Regions from separate parts of the Homo sapiens genome. Here region 1 is linked to region 2. Evidence: promoter capture Hi-C in 16 types of primary human blood cells and fetal thymus (Javierre and others, 2016). All regions are on one chromosome and are shown on one strand. Each heading gives the region's core, a stretch centred on a gene start or on the middle of the fragment in contact. The rest is flanking DNA. Distances are from core to core; before and after follow the strand shown.

Region 1 (6,010 bases), core at 951-3,450, 230 kb after region 2:
ACAGCTTTACTGTTCACACCTGTCTAAAGCCCATCTTATTTGCACCATCGAATACACCCACTCTTGCTTACTCAAGAACACCACTCCAGCAATTCTCTCCTATTCCCTACATCATCCATTTTCCACTCTCTGCAGGATCATTCACACCAGCACACACAACAGGCTGTCCTAAAAAGCGGAACTTTCCCTTGACCACAGATTTCACTTAATGTCATTACATTCCCTTGCAGTAGGAGTTCTTGATAAAAGCATCTGTGCCCACTGCCTCCAGTTCCTCTTCTCCCATCCTCTCTTAAATCCACTACATTCAGGCTTTCACTCTCACCATTCAATTGACGTTGGTCACCCACGACCTTCATGTTGCTAAAATCTACTGGTCCCTTCTTGTTCCTCATCCCAGTTGATCTACCAGCAGCAGGTGGCATTGTAGGTGGCTTCCTCCCCTTGGGACATTTCTTTACCTGGTTTCCAGGGTACCACACTCTGAGTTTCCTGCTACCTCATAGGTCACTCTTTTTTTATTTTGGCTGACTTCCTCCTTTTCTCCCCAATCTCTTAATATTTGAATGTCCCACGGATCTGTTCAAATTTTTTTTCTTTTCTCTGTCTATACTCCACTGATAATCTCATCTAGTCTCATGGTTTTAAATATCAACTCTATGTTGATAACCCCCAAATGTATATGTGCAGCCCACCCACACTTCCTTCTCAAATCCCAAATTCAAACTTCTAACTACCCATTCAGTAACCCCATTTTGTTATCTAATAGATATTTTAGACTTCACATGTCCAAAATCAAACTCCAGGTTTTCTCTTCCACCAAGCCTGTGCCATCCATAGCCAATCAGAGTGGAAAGACCTTGATGAATACTTGAGATATTCCGCAGAGACCCCGCAAGGGCCATACCTTGAAAGCAGGACAAAACTAGCACTAAAGCAAGAACTATTCCAGACTTTTAATATTATTTTAACAAAGTTTATCTTAAATGTTAAAGAAAAAACAAGCCTCTAAAGCATCAAAGGGCTCCATAACTAATTTAACTGCCTTCAAAAAAAACCAAAAAATTTAATGGAAGAAAATAAAATCCAGACACTTAAGAATGTAATAATCACAATGTCCAACATCCAGTCAAAAATGCTGTTCAAAGCAGGAAACTATGATCCATAATCAGGATAAAAGTAAGTCAGTGGAAGCAGACCCAGAAATGACAGGGATTGATGGAATTAGCATGCAAGAACTTTAAAACAGCAATTGTAAATATGTTTAAGGTATTAAAGATAATATGATAGGGAGAGAAATGGAAACCATAATAAAAGAAACAAAACTTGTAGAGCTGAATCATACAATATATAAAATGAAAACTTCACTGAATAAGCTTAGCAGTAGATTACACACTGCAGAATAAAAAATAAAAACTTGAAGACATAGCAATGGAAACTATCCAAACTAAAGCACAAAGAAAAGGCTGAACAAAAAAATAAAGAGAGCCTCAGTTACCTATGAGGCAATATCAAGCAGTCTTACATGCATTATAAGTTGCTTTGGAATTGCGAATAGAGAAAGGAACAGAAAAAGTGGTTGAATAAAGGCAGAACATTTTCCAAACATCAAGATTCAAGAAGCACAACCAACCCAAAGCAGGCTAAACACACACACACCCAAAATACATCATAATCAATTTACTGAATTTCAAGAATAAAACAAAAAAAATTAAAATCAGCCAAAGGTGAAAAACATGTTATAAAGTTATCAAAGGGAAACCAAATAGAGGATGACCATGACTTCTCAGAAAAGCCAAAGGCAATTTGCTGAAAGAAATTCTAAATTCTGTAGCTAGTAAAACTGTCCTCCAAAATGAAGGGGAAAGAGAAGGTTATTTTCAGAGAAAATAGAGATTTTATCATTAACAAACTTGAACCAAAAGAAATAGTAAAGGAAATTGTTGAGGCAGAAGGAGTATAAGAGATGGATAGTCTGACCTACACAAAGGAATAAAGAACTCCAGAAATAGTAATTCTGGTACAAATATAAAATCATTTTATTTTCTCATTTGAATAAATATCTTATTTCTATTTAAAGCAAAACTAACAAAAATTTGTGAAGTTTATAATATGTGGAAGTAAAAATATATGTTAACAGCACAAAGGAAGGGAGGAAGAAAATTAAAGTAGACCTCCTTCTAAACATTTGAGCCAGTCTCTCTCTCTCTTCTCCTCTCTCATCTAGGCCTCCCCTCTTCCTATAGCATGACCATAAGTAGCATCTCAGGAAAAACTCTAATCCAATATTTTTCTCAACCTTAGTTGTAGTTAGGAGGACCTATTTACACATGCTTCCAAGCCATTATCATGATAGCTCTACTAGTCAGAAAAGCCTTCAAGTTAAGCCTAGGAAATAACTGTTTACATCCCACATAATATGGCAAGATCACTGTCCTCTAGGGGGAGCTCTTAGCTAGCAAACGGCCGGTAAAGCAAAGAAGTACATAGTCACTCTCCCCAAACACGAGCGCTCAGTTAGCTGAGCTAATAGCTCTTACAAGAGCACTTAAATTAAGCAAGGGAAACGTAGATAACATCTATACTGACTCCAAGTATGCTTTCCTGATTTTCCATGCTCATGCTGCCATTTAAAAGGAAAGGCATTTTCTTACCACTAATGGAGTTTTTTATAAAATATCACCAGGAAATTAGCAGATTATTAACCTCAGTTTTTCTACCATGAGAGATAGCAGGTAAGTATTGTAGGGAACATCAAAAGGGAACGGATGAGGTAGCTGAAGGAAATAGATTAGCTGATCAGGCAGCTAAGTCAAAGGCAAGGAAGCCTCAAGGCACTAATACACTTCAAGCCTTTCTAGTCTAGGAGGGCTCCATAAAAGAAATTAAACCTCAGTATTCTGCTGCAGAAATAGAATAGGGCACTTCTCAAGCGCATACTTTTCAGCCCTCAGATGCCTACAGTCAGGATGGCAAACTCTATTTGCCAGCCTCCAGCCAATGAAAGTCCTTAAAATCCTTCGCCAAGCTTTTCACTTGGGAAAGGATACAACTTATCAATGTGCTCAGAGATTGTTTTCAGGCAGAGAACCTCTAAATTGGTTAAGAATGTAACCTCTCGGCCGGGCGCGGTGGCTCACGCCTGTAATCCCAGCACTTTGGGAGGCCGAGGTGGGCGGATCAGGAGGTCAGGAACTCGAGACCATCCTGGCTGACACGGTGAAACCCCGTCTCTACTAAAAAATACAAAAAATTAGCCGGGCATGGTGGCGGGCGCCTGCAGTCCCAGCTACTCAGGAGGCTGAGGCAGGAGAATGGCGTGAACCCGGGAGGCGGAGCTTGCAGTGAGCCGAGATGGCGCCACTGCACTCCAGCCTGGGCGACAGAGCAAGACTCCATCTCAAAAAAAAAAAAAAAAAAAAAAAAGAATGTAACCTCTCTAGCTCATTTCCAACAGGAATTAACACAGCTAGGAGAAGCCCAACTCCAGGAAATAAAACCACCTTTATATAATCCAGGAATTTAGGCATTAGTGAAAACTCTCATCTCTTTCCTTCCCTAAGCCAAGCTGGGAAGGGCCCTACACTGTTCTTCTTTCAACCCTCTGGGCAGTAAAAGTTACAAGAATCAACTCCTGGATACATCACACTCAAGCCAAAGCCTGAAGAGCCAAGGGAGCAACCCCTGACAGCCCAGAGGAAGAAATAGAAGATATTACACTAAAAATCATAAAAGGTAAGTAACTGAGTGAGGGCTCCTCATCTTAGCCCAACCTTTACATCAACAGATGCTTTTTGTCATTTCTGCCCTTTCCTCTCAAAATTTGCCCCCAAATATTAGAACTTCTTTTTAATGCATATTTGCAGGGAAATTTTGATTATACATGGGATTCCATTTGTAACCTTGTAAATCCTCGAAGGGAAATGTTATATCTTGGCAAGTAAAGTTTTAAACGAAAATTATTTACTACCCCACTCTTGTGGAAATTGTTAGAGTCATGCCACTATTTGCAATTGGACTATACAGTGTGGAATTCTGGTTGTAAAATTCTAATTGCTGTAATATTTTGGCTGATTATCATCCTTATAACAGGATTAATAATTGCAGGAGAAATTTAGTCAAGGTTGTTTTGATTACAGCAGGAGTAATAGTTACAGATAAGAAGTAAGCATAAAAGTTTTGCTATCATTAAGTTTAATAGGACTTTTTACTAAAGGTTGGTAATATAATGCACTGTAAGTTATTTTAAAAAGGTTATAAAGAAAGAAATTTTATATAAGAAAGGATTTTGTTTTGTAAATACTTGTCCTTGAAGGAAATGGCTGGTTGTTTAAATGAAGGATGTTTAAGACAAGTCATAAAGTTTAAGTATGTTGTAAGAGGGTCTGTGAAAGTCATGAAAAAATTTAATAAAGAAAAGGAATTGTCAAGATTAATGCTAAAGTTATTTTAGCCACCCAATGTATTTCTCCCAATCATATTGAAAGTTATAAAAATGGCCTAAGGCAAGTTCTTCTCTAATGGCAAGTCAAGAGGGAAATGGATGTATTTTTCAAGGAAAATGTTACTTTTATATTAACGTTTCTGGTAATGTACAGCGACATCTAGTGCAGACAAATCGGTATTGCAATCCATTGGTGTAACTAACAGGTACCAAACTCTATTGTCAGTTAAGGTCTATAGGACCCCCACTAACGGTGGTAATCTTAATGCTCATATTCTAACCCTATATTTTAAATCTTCTTGTAAAATGTATCTCTTTTCGCCTAGAAGCAATCAAACTCCAAATGGTGCTGCGAGCAGAGCCAAACATGGACACGCCGTTCTTCCAAGAACCATTAGATCAACCTCAGGAGAAGGCCCAGCTGCTGTTCCTCCACATGACGCCCCTTTTCAGTGGGAAGTAGCCAAAAGAATCATCGTTCAACACCCCCTAACAGTAGTTAGGTTTGCTTATCTTGGGGGAAATAATACAGGAGTTATTAAGAAATAATTTTTAGGCAGATAGAGATGGTAAACGAAGTTCTTGGTAAGGCTTTTTCTTTTAATAAAAGCAACCCCCAAACCATTTCTTTTCTAACAGAAAAACGACTTGAAGGGCCAAGCTGGCAAGCTTTGATATGCAAATGCAGGCCATTAGAAACAGTCCACCTAATATGGCGATTCCCACCTTTTTCCTCTTGTCACGATGTGTGCCAAGTGTCATGGCCAACTCCAGATAACACCATGTGTTCAGAACATCATGGCGACCCACATTTGCATATTAAAGGACTAAGGTGGGAGGGCCAGGTTCTTTGTGGGCTACGTAAACGACGCACCTGGTCAAACCAATCCCCTGGGCCCTGTGCAAACCGGACACCGCCTCCTCCAACATCCCAATATAAGCAACCACTTTTCCGCTGCACACGGGGTTTCTCTTTGTTTGAATTCCCCCCTCCCTGTCTCTGTATGGGTGATCTGTTCTCTTCTTCCTTCCTTCTTTCTTGCCTAACCAGCTCTCTGCTCCTTAAAACCACTCCACGTGTGTCTGTGTCATTTTCTCTAAATCAGCGTGAGACCAAGGACCCTGGTGTTCTTCTAATCATCGGAGCCATATCATTTTATGTCCCTTTTTTTGGTTTAAGCCAATTATGACGGTTCTCTTTCTGCATCTGTGATTAGCTTAGAAGTGGGCATGTGACTTCTTTCTGGCCAATGAGATTAGAGGGGAGTTCTGCAGAAAAGCCTGTAGAAGAGATTGATTTCCTATTAAGGAGACCAGGAGCGGTGGCCTCCTTCTTTTGGATGTTTCTGTACCTGGATGTGATACCTGGAACCGCTGTAGCAACACGTGAGCACAAGAGGAGCCAGCCTGGGTGGAGGCAAGGCCAACGCTCAGGACGGTGAAACAGAGCGATGGGAAAAGCTGGGTCCCTGCAGTGAAACCTTTGAGCGGCTGTCTCAATCAGCAGTTGGGCCACCCTTAATAATAAGTTGTCTTATTATTTAAGCCACTTAAGTCAGGGGCTTC
Region 2 (6,661 bases), core at 2,325-4,824:
AGGCAACAAAAGCAAAAATAGACAAACAGGATTACATCGAACTATTAACAGAAAACTCTGCATAGCAAAGGAAACAGTCAGCAAAGTAAAGAGCCTATGGAATGGGAGAAAATATTTGCAAACTATACATCTGGTAAGGGGTTAATATCCAAAATACATAAGGAACATAAACAACTCAGTAGGAAGAAAACAACTCAAACAGAAAGTGAGCAAAGGACCTAAATAGACATTTCTCAAAAGATGACATACAAATGGCTAATAGGTATATGAAAGCATGCTCAATGTCACTAATCATCAGGGAAATGCAAATTAAAACCACAATGAGAAATTACAGACGGTATTAGAATGGAGATTATTTAAAAAAAAAGACAAAAGATAACAACTGTTGGCAAGGATATGGAGAAAAGGGAACCCTTATACAGTTAGTGGGAATGTAAATTAGTACAGCCATTATGGGAAACAGTATAAATTATTTGTTGTGTATATTTTCGAGAAGGTAACTGAATGGGTTAACTTAGTTAAATGTTGAAATACGTCTATTCAATAGATTAATTTGGTTTTAGAATATTAAAATTCTGGCTTGGTGTTATTCTATTAATCCCACTCTTATGGTGGGAATAAATATGTTATATGTTTCTATTCAATAATTTGGTTTTAGAATATTAATATTTTGGCTTGGTGTTATTCTATTAATCCCACTCTTATGTTGGGAATAAATATGTTATATGCTTAACAACAACAAAGAAACCTAACTTTGACCATGGATTTGATTTCAGGTGCACAGGGCTAAGGGCAGCCTGCAGGTTAGCTCTGTGACTGCATAGTTCTACATTCTTTCTCTGATCTGCTGCTGCTATTTGATCTCTGAATTTCTCTTTAGTTTTGGTGAAACTTTCTAAAAGACATTCACTGTGGGTCAGATGCAATTTATAAAAATTGTGTATTCAAGAAGGGAGCCCTGTTTATCTCATTTCTCAGCTGTTTAGGAGATGATTTTAGAGCACTAGAAAGGCACTGGTAGAGAGGCAGGCAGAGGGCAAACCTCCAAGGCCATTAAGGTTTTGTTGTAATTCATAGGAAGCCATTAAAGGGTTCCAAACAAAGGATTTAAACAACCTAAATTGAATGTTAAGAAGACATTTCTGGCTGCTCTATTTGAGGGTTCTTGGTAAGTGCTAAGAAATGAACAAATGTGGTATAATCATCTATCAGTGTATTTCTCACTGGCCCTGATTTATCCAAGATTAATTCAATTTCTGGGATTACCAAAGGCATCTCTGATGAAACTCAAGACCCACATTAAATATCCACATTATGGCCCACGATGAACACCTATGCAATGAGATTGTCATTATTCAAATTACAGTACAGCTATCCTAGAGGAAAAAGAGGCTTGCTACATGCTAGAATAGCATTAAGTGTGGAGAGAAATGTGAAGGTTTAAAGGAGAAAGTGCTTCTAAAGCTGATCCAGGAAGGATAAGGAGAATATGGGCCGGACGCGGTGGCTCACGCCTGTAATCCTAGCACTTTGGGAGGCCTAAGGCGGGCAGACTGCCTGAGCTCAGGAGTTTGAGAGCAGCCTGTGCAACACAGTGAAACCCAGTCAATACTAAAATACAAAAAATCAGCTGGGCGTGGTGGCATGCGCCTGTAGTCCCAGTTACTGGGGAGGCTGAGACAGGAGAATTGCTTGAACCCGGAGACCAAGGTTGCAGTGAGCTGAGATCTCGCCATTGCACTCCAGCCTGGGCGACAGAGCAAGACTCCATTTCTAAAAAAAAAAAAAAAAAAAAAAAAGAGAATATGAATTGATGAAGAGTGAACAGTAGGTATTCCAGATGAGGGGAATAGGGAATAATACTCACAAAACTGTAGAAGAGTCAACATGTTACATGAGAATATTGGCTTGATTAGTACTCAGTTCCATCATGGATTAGTAGTGGAAACTATTGGATGAGTAGTAGAATGAGGGTAATTTAGGGAAGCAGTACTTTTCTCTCGAAGACAACAAATTACAAAGATTTTTGAGCCGAAGTGAGCCTTTCAAGAGAATACTTACTTCACAGTTTCTAGTTACCCACACACAGTGTAGAGAGAAAAGAAAATGAGGAATATGGGCAGGCTTTATTCTTAGCAGCAAAAGGCAACCGTGCCACCTCCAGGTGTTTTGTTTGAAATACACCTGCCACCTTTCTACTAGATTACTTCATTCCTTGCTCACAAAACGTCTCATGCACTCTACTGCTTAAAGAGTAAAGTCCAAACTCCTCAGCCTTACACTCGAGATTCTCCGAAATTCTTCCCTGACACACCTCTCCAAAGAAGCTTACTTTAAGGAAACTCATACTCTGGCTAAATGGTCTTTAAATTCTCAAGAAGTCACTGTGTCTTCCATCTACCTTCCCTCACATCTACCTTCCCTCGCTGATGTGTTCTTTATTCTTGGAATCCCTTAGTTCTTGTTTACTCCTGTAAGTACTACCTAGGTTGTAAGGTCTAGTGCAAACCCTATATCCTCTACGAAGAGTTTTCATACCACCGTAGACCATATTGACTTCATTTCTTCATTGCTTTTTGTGAACTATGCTTGGACAAGTTGCTTCAACTCTTTTTTTTTTTTTTTTGAGACGCAGTCTCGCTCTGTCGCCCAGACTGGAGTGCAGTGGTATGATCTCGGCTCACTGCAAGCTCCGCCTCCCAGGTTCACGCCATTCTCCTGCCTCAGCCTCCCAAGTAGCTGGAACTACAGGCGCCCACCGCCACGTCCGGCTAATTTTTTTTTTTTTTTTTTTTTGTATTTTTAGTAGAGACAGGGTTTCACCATGTTAGCCAGGATGGTCTCGATCTCCTGACCTCGTGATCTGCCCGCCCTGGCCTCCCAAAGTGCTGGCATTACAGGCGTGAGCCACCGCGCCGGGCCCAGAAGGCTAATTCTTACTGTCTCTAACACAGGTCCGGTACATAACACTTATTTTGGCGGAAGTTACTGGGTTTTTTTAAGGAGTTATGTATCTCTCAAGCAGAAACCTGCTAGTTCATAAATTCTTAGCATCCCCAACCACTCTTGGCACGCTGCCTTGTATATTATTAGGCTCAACAGCAGTTAGTAATGATGAACACTCCTTAATTCGAAAGCGTTCACTGAATCTACCCCAACGATAGCTTCTCATTAGCTTCTCCACTCCAGCTGCTATTGGCCAAGCCCTGGATGCCCGAAGCACACAGGTTTAGGGCTTCTGGCCCTGACACGTAATAGGGAAAGGGGATTGTTTCAATCCAAATGATTATCTATAAAGTCACTCACAATGTAAGTAATAATATGCGAAATTTTAATTTGTGATGACTAAAAGCACTAAAGTGGTGACTCTTTGGGTAGAACGTAAAAACGAACGGTCCTCAACGGCCACAAGGCGCCCCTTCTAGGAGTGGTACCTCCCAGGATAACGGAAAACAGCCCCAGCCCCATCAGGAGCGAGCTTGGGGGCGGGCTTTAATCTCCCGGCCCACTGTTTGGCTATCTGCAGGGGCTGGCCTCCAATGATTGGTCGCTGCCGCGAGGGCCGCCGGGACTCGCACTCGGCGGTTGTTCCAGAAGAAAGAGACAGCGATGGCGGCAGAGGCTTCGAAGACTGGGCCTTCTAGGTCTTCCTACCAGCGAATGGGGAGGAAGAGTCAGCCCTGGGGTGCCGCTGAAATCCAGTGCACCAGGTGTGGAAGGAGGGTATCCAGATCATCCGGTGAGGAGCCCAAGGGCCCACCTAGCGGGGAGGCAGCCTGGAGGGAGCGCTGGGGGCCAGGTGAGCTGGTGGGCGCGTGAGGCTTGGTCAGCTGCATCCAATCCTGGTGTCACCAGAAACTGCGTCACAGGCCTCCCGCGAGCTGCACCCGACCTCTAAGAGGGCAGTGCTTGGGTTGGTTAAGGGCAGCACCTGCGCCTGTCACGGCTTTCTCCAATTACCCATCCAGGCCTCACCGACCCTCCAGCCGGGAGGATGGGGGCCCGGGTGGCTTTAATCTACTCCTCACAAGGCAGGTTAGCGGGTGCATGCAAAAGTAGACATAAAATGTAGCCCATTGTTTTGTCATCAAGAAGGAACGAAACTTGATTTTCTCCTGTAGTTTTTGTTGTAGGAGTAACAAGTAGACCATTGTGAAATGGTTTTGGATTTTGTTGTTGTTGTTAGCATTTTGTTGTTTCTGTGGGGGTTTTTTTGTTTGTTTTTTACATTATGGCTCACACTGGCCTAAAACACTGTTTGGAAAATGATAGTTTCTTTTGTGCACCTTGTGGGGTGTGTGTGTGTGTGTGTGTGTGTGTGTGTGTGTGTTGGTCTTTATACGTGAGGGGAAAAATACACTGCACTATTATTGGTCTGTTCACCTACAATCTACTCAAGTGATCACAGGTTCAAGTTATTTATTATTATTTTTTTCTTTGAGTTGGAGTCTCGCTCTGTAGCCCAGGCTGGAGTGCAGTGGCGCGATCTCGGCTCACTGCAAGCTCCGCCTCCCAGGTTCACGCCATTCTCCTGTCTCAGCCTCTGGAGTAGCTGGGACTACAGGCGCCCGCCACCACGCCCGGCTAATTTTTTGTATATTTAGTAGAGACAGGGTTTCACCGTGTTAGCCAGGATGGTCTCGATCTCCTGACCTCGTGATCCGCCCGTCTTGGCCTCCCAAAGTGCTGGGATTACAGGCGTGAGCCACCGCGCCCGGCCGGTTCAAGTTATTTTAATGTAACTTAAAATACCTTAGTGTGCTCTTAATACAGCTGAGTTGTTGAATCTCAATTCCTGGAGCTACTGAAAATTCGTATTACCTGGCGTAACTGTTTAATGTTTATACTTTCAAAGTTAAGGTCATTCGATCAGTTTTCTCAGTCTTGGCAAGATGGACTCTGTGAGATGTGAGCCTCTGCAGAAAAAGTTGTGATTTCAGTGGAGAACCAAGTTTCTCCTACTTGGGGTTTAGATCACTGCTACCGTTACGTAGAAAATTTCCATTTTTGAATGAAATTAAAATTACGGAATAAAGTTCTAGAACACAACCTTTTAAAATGAGTACTTCTTCCATACATTAGTATTATAATGCTTAGAAAAACTAAACTGGAGAAGTAGTGGTTATGTATATAGAATCCTGAAAGTGCTTTTTAAGCTGTAATTCACCACAAGTTATTTTGAGTTATTCAGTATCAGAAATTTTATAATAGTTAAGTGTTTTTATTTCTTTGGCAATATTATCCCTGGAAGTTAAATAGGGTTTTAAAATTTAGCATGGTTGTAAGCAAGTTTCAGGTATTTCAGTTGGATAGGAAACTTGTAAAGTTTTTAAAAAATACAATTAATGCAAGGCCGGGCACAGTGGCTCACGCCTATAGTCCCAGCACTTTGGGAGGCCGAGGTGGGCGGATCACTTGAGGTCGGGAGATCAAGACCAGCCTAGGCAACATGGTGAAATCCCATCTCTACTAAAAATACAAAAAAATTAGCTAGGCGTGCTGACGCACACCTGTAATCTCAGCTACTCCGGAGGCCGAGGCAGGAGAATAGCATGAACTCAGGAGGCAGAGTTGGCAGTGAACCGAGATCGTGGTCCGTCTCAGAATGAGTGAATGAATGGATGAATAAATAAATAAATAAAATTAATGCGATTATAATTCAGCAAGAACTCTATAATTATTTTGCTAGTAAAAGATGACTGATTTTTATCTAGTTTTTTTCCCTTTTCAGTTTTCTTGCAAAACTTTAAAAATGACAACCTTTTGAAATTATATAGCTAAAACAAATGTTATTTATTATAAACTTCAAATTCTTAGAGCATTTAATCATGATGTTAGGTTTTCAATCAAGTTACGATATTTCCTTTCATAAATGCTAAGTTTGTGAAAATGTGAGTTGTAGATATGTGATAATAGTAGCATCTGGCTTCTGGCCTTGCCAGTGTCTTAAATAATTCTAACAGCACGGTCTTGCCAGTGTCTCATTTTGGCCCTTCCTGACCTCTTCACAGGATGGGAAATATAAAGTAGTAGAGGGCAGTATGATCAATCAGAAAGAATGTTAGACTTGGAAACAGAGCTAGATAGGAGTCTGGATTATACCATTTAGTTAACCAAATCTCCAAAATGCTATTTCATCTCCAGCCCACTTAACTGTGATATTTACAAATAACAAATAAAATGTGTCAGAGCACTTTGTGTAAGATATGGCAGATTCAAAGTATTCTAGGTACAAAATAGCCATCTGAATTAATGCAAATGCTATTACATAGCTCTTCTTGGTTTTTCTTCTTGATTTTTCTCCCTCCTGACCTGAATAGTTGGTTACTCCTGATTTATATTCAATAAGTCAACCATTTCAAACTGTAGTAGGTATCTTTTCCTGTACAGTAGGATCCTCTTTGAATTTCCCTTGTATCAGTATTGCCCATTCAACATTAACACACTGTGGGCAGTTTAATCACAATAGAATTTCTTCAGTAAAATTAGCCGGGTGTGTTGGGACACACCTATAGTCCCAGCTACTTGGGAGGCTGAGGTAGGAGGATCACTTGAGCCCAAGAGGTGGAGGCTGCAGTGAGCTGGTGCCACTACACTCCAGCTTGGGCAACAGAGCAAGACCCTGTCTCAATAATCATCATCATCATCAAAATAATAATTA

The links. The method cuts DNA at HindIII sites, captures the fragments that hold promoters and counts their contacts. A CHiCAGO score of 5 or more calls a contact.
Region 1: a fragment that was not itself captured here is called in contact with the fragment with the promoter of RNF17 in region 2 in 1 of 17 cell types (megakaryocytes); the score reaches 5.0 in megakaryocytes.

What each region holds. Positions count from the first base shown.
Region 1 is chr13:24,992,959-24,998,968 of GRCh38, forward strand. No RefSeq gene overlaps it. Among named protein-coding and RNA genes, the nearest start is that of CPAP, 73 kb to the left of the region's middle. The HindIII fragment of the contact is 1,652 bases long and covers 1,375-3,026 here.
Region 2 is chr13:24,760,595-24,767,255 of GRCh38, forward strand. RNF17 (ring finger protein 17) reads left to right here and starts at 3,575. Exons shown (of 36, transcript NM_031277.3): 1 at 3,575-3,739. The coding sequence starts at 3,610. The HindIII fragment of the contact is 5,895 bases long and covers 2,326-6,661 here.